Linked DNA regions of Homo sapiens: region 2 is linked to region 1. Evidence: promoter capture Hi-C in 16 types of primary human blood cells and fetal thymus (Javierre and others, 2016). All regions are on one chromosome and are shown on one strand. Each heading gives the region's core, a stretch centred on a gene start or on the middle of the fragment in contact. The rest is flanking DNA. Distances are from core to core; before and after follow the strand shown.

Region 1 (3,499 bases), core at 726-3,225:
CACAAGCCCCTTATGAGCCAGGACAGCAAGGCAGAGCTGCACGGTAGCTGCTACTGTCGGCTGCAGCCCCACAGCTAGCCCTTCAAACACTGAGTGAAAGGAGAGTGACAGCAAGAGGACAAGGGCTCGGAGGGGACCCTTTGAGGGTGAGGGTAAATGTCCATGGCTGTGGAGTTCGAAGATATGAGCCCCACCCCATTCTTCGTCCTGCACTGTCGATCCTCCAGCAGCCCCAGGACAGCACTGCAATGCCAGCGACTCCAAAAAGAAGACAAAAAAGAAGCCCAGGGAGATGATGAGCTCTCCATAGGGATACTCCATCTAGAAACAAAAAGAAGGGCTGTGAGATGGAAAGGAAGGGTAGGCAATACATTGGATGGACATGGAATTGGGAGATTGAAGAGAATGAGAAAATGTGGTAACAGAACACAAAAAAGGGTAGGGGAAATGAAGCCAAGAGTAGACATGGCCATGCAACAACAAGAATGCCAGAGTGGGCCGGACACAGTGGCTCATGCCTGTAATCCTAGCACTTTGGGAGACTGAAGTGGGCAGATCACTTGAGGTCAGGAGATTGAGACCAGCCTGGCCAACATGATGAAACCCCGTCTCTACTAAAAATACAAAAACTAGCCAGGTGTGGTGGCACGTGCCTGTAATCCCAGCTACTCAGGAGGCTGAGGCAGGAAAATCACTAGAACTCGGAAGGCAGAGGTTGCAGTGAGCCGAGATTGTGCCACTGTACTCCAGTCTGGGCGACAGAGAGATTTCATCTCAACAAACAAACGAAAAACAACAACAACAAAAGACTGCCAGAGGGGCTAAGGGACAGAATCTCAATAGAGTTAAAAACATGGGCAAATGATGTGAGGTATATCAGAGGATCCAGGGAAAGAATGAAAGAGTAAAACAAGGGCTTTCCCTGGCATTCTATAAACTCAAAAGGATTGGATTTGCTCCTCTTTTCCTCTACGATGTCTGAGCTAGGGAGCAGAAGGGATTCTTGGTACTCCTCATGTATTCCTCTCAAAAGGGTCTGGATATGAAAGGCCTCTCTGGTTCTCCTCACTCTCCAGATAGGGGATGGTGGGAGGTACTTACATGAGCTGAATCAGCATCACCAGAAGAATTTCTCTCACTTGCTGATCTGTTCTAAGAAGAAAGCAGCAGAAATTAGATGTGGGATGGAGCAGCACAGCTTCCTGTGCTGTCCCTTCAGCAATTCTGTTTTCCTTAAAGCCTAATCTGACTTGCTTTCACCATCCCACACAAGAGCTGTCATTTTCCTTGTCGTTCCACCCATGTCCTTGGCTCCATCACTTTCCCGCTCTCTTCCCTTTGTCCTGTTTATCATTTTGGCCTCATAGACCTGCGGCTTGAAATCTCTGCTCTCACCTGCACCATGAACTTCTGAATCTGTGATTCAATTTCCTCCAGGGCTTCAGCAGTCATATGCATGAACCCTGCTCCCAGGAAAACACCAGCAGAAATACAGCCCAGGAGTCTGAGGACTAGCCGGTGATGACCTAATAAAAAGCAGAAGTTACAACCCACTTGACACTGAGGAGACAGACAAAGGTGAGTAAAGAGCAGCAGGCAGCACTCAATATCCCAAGGTTGGGGATGGTGAGAGAATCAGAGCAAGGTATCAGGACAGGGTTGAGGTGAGACTCAGGCTATGGAACAAAGATGGGGTAGGGCTATACCTCTGGCTGCATCAATCTGGAACCATTTGAAGCAGATGGGAGTAAGGCCACAGCCCAGAGTGAGAGCCAACAGGGCAAACAGGCAGCCAAGTTTTATTCCTAGTAGTTGCTCCATCTCTGGGGTGTAGGGTAAGCCCAGGAGTCAGAATGACAAGGGAGCTGTAATCTTTGGAGCAGGAGTGGTATCTTAGGTGGTCAACACTGGAGTGTCCACTCTCGTGAGTTTCAGGAGGCTGTTGGTATCTTCTTTCTGTGTTGCTTCTGCTTCTGCAGCATTGCAGAGCTGACAGATCCTGCCCCAGCTTCTAGCCCTCCCCCTGCATGGAGGCCCCTCCCCTGGTTCACGCCTTCCTGAGCTTGGAAACCAGAAACTCCAGACTCCCTGCCAGGCACAGCCCAGTGGCGTCTTCTCCTCCTCTTCAATGGCATGACTAATCCAAGAGCTACGGATAGTCTTAGTTCATGTGCTTGGGGTTGGTCTAATCCAAAATAGGAAAGTCTATGGTAGCTGCTTCCCAGCTATTTTGTACTGGGGACAATCTGGTCCTGTCTCACTCAGGACGTTTGATCTAAGCCTTCCATACCCTCTCCACCTCATCCCAAGTCTTATAGGTTGCAATGCTGATACTTGAACCACCCGCTTTCAGAGATTTGGGGCCACCTGGAGGTAAAGAGGTGGGGCTGAGAGGTGGTGCTGGTGCTACTCTGTGGGAACTAGTACCCACATGAGGGAACTACCCTTTCCTGTAACCCCAGAAAAATAGCTCCAGGCATGGAAATGTCTAGTGGTAAGTTGATTTGTTTTTTTTCTTTCTCTTTTGATTGGGATCAGTTTTGAGAGGAATGAGTTGAGATGTCTGGTATTACAACATTTATACTGTTACAACTTCTAACTGTGCCTGTTTCCTGGTAAGAACTGTGGAAAAAAAGACATTTAAGGTTTAAGACAAAGGAAGCTGCTCTAGCCCTGAAACAGCAAGGCTTAGGGGAAAACAGAAATGAACTGAGTGAATGGGAGGATTCTACCTGGATATAGAGAGGTGGGGGTAGAAGATTCAGTTCTGATGGGAATCACTCTTGATGGAAATGTCTGGGGCATTTCCCATACATACTCTAGGGTAGCTGAGGGACCCTGGGAAAGACAGAAGGGAAGGCGTTAGTACAAGAGGCCAGGCAGCTGCTGATTCCCCTATTCAGGTGGCCCACATAACAACCCTGAGACCTGTTGAGCCAGTTCTCAGAGCTCTGGAGGCAGCTTTCCTTGCTACTCCAGATTATTTTCCTAGGGAAGTCCTGGCCTCTGGTAGAAGCAGTATTCTTACAGTGTTACTGGATGATTCTTACAGTGTTACTGGTCCTGCTGCTTGTTCTTGTGGTCCGGTAATGAGATGCAGACAGACAGACTGGGAAAGACGGGAGTTTATTTCTGCAACTGATTACAGGGAGGTCGGAGTAGCACACCAGACCAACTCAAAGTTACAAGCTTTTCTTTAGCTTTTATATACAATTCAAGCTCTATGACTACCTGCGGGAATGTTTCCTAATTAATCTAAACTAGGGGTCTGCAGGTAGAAGTTTTTTTTTTGTTTTTTAGAAACAAAGCAATAAACGATTTGATTTAGAAATAAAACCATTCCCATTATTGCAGCATTATCATCAGTCACTGATTGCTAATGCTGTTTACGCTTCTTTTTCCCTGGGATGTCTGAACCTGGCAACTTTTCTTCCTGTTCTTCTATTTTCTTAGCAAACCCACATCAAGGGTGTCTGTTCGCGTTTGAAATTCATCGGCA
Region 2 (3,499 bases), core at 370-2,869, 130 kb after region 1:
CCACACATTCATTCATAGAATCTGACCACCATAGCAGATTTCTGCAGAACTCCACCACTGCCCTGTACCAACAGCCCCTCCATGTGCAGCTGCCACAACAGTACTCATGATGTCAATGTCACTGACTGCTTTGCCAGCACAGGGACCCGACCTCTTCACTGCCACTACCAAAAATAAGAAGGAGTCCACCAGGCCCATGCGAGTGGGCTGCAAGAAGGGGGCATCTGTTCACCTGGATGGCTAGGTTCCTCCTGACAACGGCACCTGAATGACTTGCACCCTACGCCTTCAAATCTGTGCAGCACTGTCAAGGTCTTCTTTGTAAATGCTTCGTCCTTTGCACGCAGGCTCCTGCGTCTTTCTTACAGCCTGTTCCCCACCAACCCCATGTGCCCTACCCCTGCCACAGTGTCAGGGCTTTTGGTGGAGGATAAGGCTGCAGTGGAGGGTTGGTGGGAGGGAGCCTGAATTACGGAAATAATACTCGGGAAAAGACTTGCTCCAACCAAGCTGCTAGACAATCCCCTTCTCCTGGGGCTGATCTTCCCACCAGCTGCTCTCATAAAACCTCCTGATGGCTGGCCCTAGGTTTCCTGGATCATAGGGTCCTTCTGCCTTCTGCGGGACATTCTATGCCTTTCTCCTCAATGGGCTCCTTCGGAGGGTATTAGGGACGATACCCTGGCGGGAAACCGCTTCCTTTAGGGAAACAAATCACTGTGGCTCCAGGGGTGTCACCGGAAAAAGCCGTTTCCGGAGAAGCCGGAGGAGCTTGGGCAACTCCGCAGGCCCAGAGCCTTCGTGGTCTCCCAGTTCCCGTGGCCGTCGTATTGGTCGGCAGGGGGCGCCGCGCCACAAGCTTCCTGCACAAGAGTCCAAAACTTCTTTCTTGGTTTCCTTTGAGACAGGCTGCAGGTTTCTTGGTTGCTGACACGGGTAGACGATAATAGGTGAATAAACAAAATCCAGCCAGCATAAATACAGTCTAACTGTTGAAGAACAGATTTCTGAGTCTACCATAACTTTCATACACTGCAGCACTTTAACGTTGAACCTGCCACCTTCAGATTCACACTGCAGCACCTCAGGTAAGAAGGAAAGGAAGTGAATATGCACTGAGGACCTACTTGTGTTATGAGCTTTACAGTTCAGCTGCGCTGGAGAAGAGTTTATTTCTTTCATGGAATCCATTACATCACCGATCCCCTTCTGAAGGAGGTTATTTTATCCACGAGAGGAAGCATCCAAAGGTGTTCATATTCTCTACCCTGTGACTCCAGCAGAATGGTGACAAGGTTTTGAAGCAAAGGAGGGCACTTGACTCTAGGGCAGCCGTCCATTAACTGACTAGCCCGGTGCCTGTGGAACAGAGTTGCGTGAGGATTTTACCCTTTTGGAATAATCCAGTGACAAAACTGGATACTATTACTTTCATTCCTTCCCCCGATGCCAGGAGGTATAGCTGTTTTGCCTTTGTTCTTGACATTCAGCACTTAGCCTAATGCTCGCTATAAAAGTGCCTTCAAGAAATCTTTAAGGGGCCATTTTGGTAGGTCTGGTTGTTGCTGTGGATCTTTTGTAGATGCCCATTTTTAGATTAGAAAAGTTTCTTCCCTTCTGCTCCTGTTTATGTCTCTTGAATGGATTGGGAATTTCGTTGAATGATGGGATTATACAGCATATTTCTTTAATCAGTTAATGGGGTGAATTAGATTAGTTGATTTTAGAATACTAAACCAACCTTGTATTCCTGGGATAAACCCATTTTGGTTATGTGATATAATCTTTTTTATATATGACTAAATTTAATTTGCTAATATTTTGTTAAATTTTTTTTGCATTTATGTTCACGAATGAGATTGGTCTGTAATTTTTTGTATTGCCTTGTTTAATTTTGGTATCTAGGTTATATGTTAGCTTCCAGAAATGAATTGGGGAGTAGTCCTTCTTTATTTTGTAACTGGAATTATATGTTATTTTAATACTTGGTAGAACTCACATGTAAGGCTGTTTGGTCCTGATATTTTCTTATTTTCTTTGAGACTGCTTTTTCTTTTTTCTTTTCCTTTTTTTTTTTTTTTGGAGATGGGTCTTCCTATGTTGCCCAGGCTAGTGTGCAGTGGCTATTCACAGGTGCAATCACAGAGCATACCTCGAATTACTGGTCTCAACTGATCCTTGAACACTCGGTCTCAGGTGCCTCAAACTCCTGGGCTTGAACTCCTGATCTCGAATAATCCTGCTGCCTCAGCCTCCAGAGTAGCTGGGTCTACAGGTACACACCACCAGGCTTAGCCTCAAACTATTTTAAACTTCTGTTTCAATTTCCTTAATGGTTAAAGAGATGCTAACTTTTCCATTTCTTCTTGAGAAAGCTTTGGTAGATTGTTTTTTCCCACGTAGGAATTTATCCATTTCGTCTAAAGTTCCCAAATATATTAGCACAAAGTTATTCATAATCTGTTTAATATTTATAGCATTGATTTTATGTCCTATTTTTATTCTGACTTTTTTGTACCTTTTTTATTGATAAAACTTTTGAGGTGTGTCTCTCTTATTAGACAGAGATTTTTTCAGACATGCAGAAGCGAGTACTTATAAACTCATGTAGAAACTTTTTTAGAATGGGTCCGTCTTTTTTTTTGAGATTGAGTCTCACTCAGTCACCCAGGCTGGAGTGCAGTGGCACAATCTCGGTTCACTGCAACCTTCGGTTCCTGGGTTCAAGCAACTCTCCTTCCTCAGCCTCCTGAGTAGCTGGGATTACAGGCATGCGCCACCACACCCAGCTAATTTTTGTATTTTTAGTAGAGACAGGGTTTCACCATGTTGGCCAGGCTGGTCTTGAATTCCTTACCTCAGGTGATCTGCCCTCCTCAGCCTCCCAAAGTGCTGGGATTACAGGTGTGAGCCACCGTGCCTGGCCAGGTCCACCTCTTGAGCCACACAGATCTGCTTCCCCAGACAGGTTCAAGAGACAACTCCTCCAGGCTTCCTACCAGTCTCTGTTCCTGAAGGGAAACTTAAGAGGAAGTTTACTGTGGACAAACAAACTGTAGTCACTGTCAATGCCGCAGATCTTGGGGCTGTAACTAGCACCCATCCACTCCTTCCTTTACTATGTATTCTAATCTCCCTTTACCCTTAGGTCTTAGTTGCTTATTCTTATTTACCCTCTCACCAGTTCTGAGGGTTAAGCCCTTGGTAATCATATTTTTCTCAGGCTGAGGTGGCTACACACTTACATTCACAGTTAAAATGGAGCATGGGAGTAACAGAAAGCACCCAAGTAGATTACTTGGGTTCTACATAAATTCTTTTCTGCCTCTATTGGGTAAAAGCAGCCCTACCTCCCTCCTGCTAATCAAGGTTACTTAGCCTTGACAGTATGGCAACTCCTCTTCACGTCTGCTGGTCCCTAGACACGAGAAATCCAAAGTGTCCTGGGAAAAGCTGTAGCTTGCAGTTCAATGAGACCTTTCTGTGTAAGTTGGCAAGG

What was found. The method cuts DNA at HindIII sites, captures the fragments that hold promoters and counts their contacts. A CHiCAGO score of 5 or more calls a contact.
Region 2: a fragment that was not itself captured here is called in contact with the fragment with the promoter of SLC39A2 in region 1 in 3 of 17 cell types (M0 macrophages, M2 macrophages and M1 macrophages); the score reaches 9.1 in M0 macrophages.

The regions. Positions count from the first base shown.
Region 1 is chr14:20,997,769-21,001,267 of GRCh38, reverse strand. It overlaps SLC39A2 (solute carrier family 39 member 2), which reads right to left and starts at 1,975. Exons shown (of 4, transcript NM_014579.4): 1 at 1,707-1,975; 2 at 1,396-1,526; 3 at 1,102-1,152; 4 at 1-321. The coding sequence starts at 1,821. LOC101929718 (a long non-coding RNA gene) reads left to right here and starts at 2,105. Exons shown (of 4, transcript NR_110139.1): 1 at 2,105-2,494; 2 at 3,454-3,499. RefSeq lists an enhancer at 717-1,916. The HindIII fragment of the contact is 5,548 bases long and covers 1-3,191 here.
Region 2 is chr14:20,871,148-20,874,646 of GRCh38, reverse strand. LOC100507513 (a long non-coding RNA gene) reads left to right here. Exons shown (of 4, transcript XR_110261.4): 3 at 1-1,088. Among named protein-coding and RNA genes, the nearest start is that of RNASE3, 18 kb to the left of the region's middle. RefSeq lists enhancers at 596-645, 756-855. The HindIII fragment of the contact is 1,516 bases long and covers 862-2,377 here.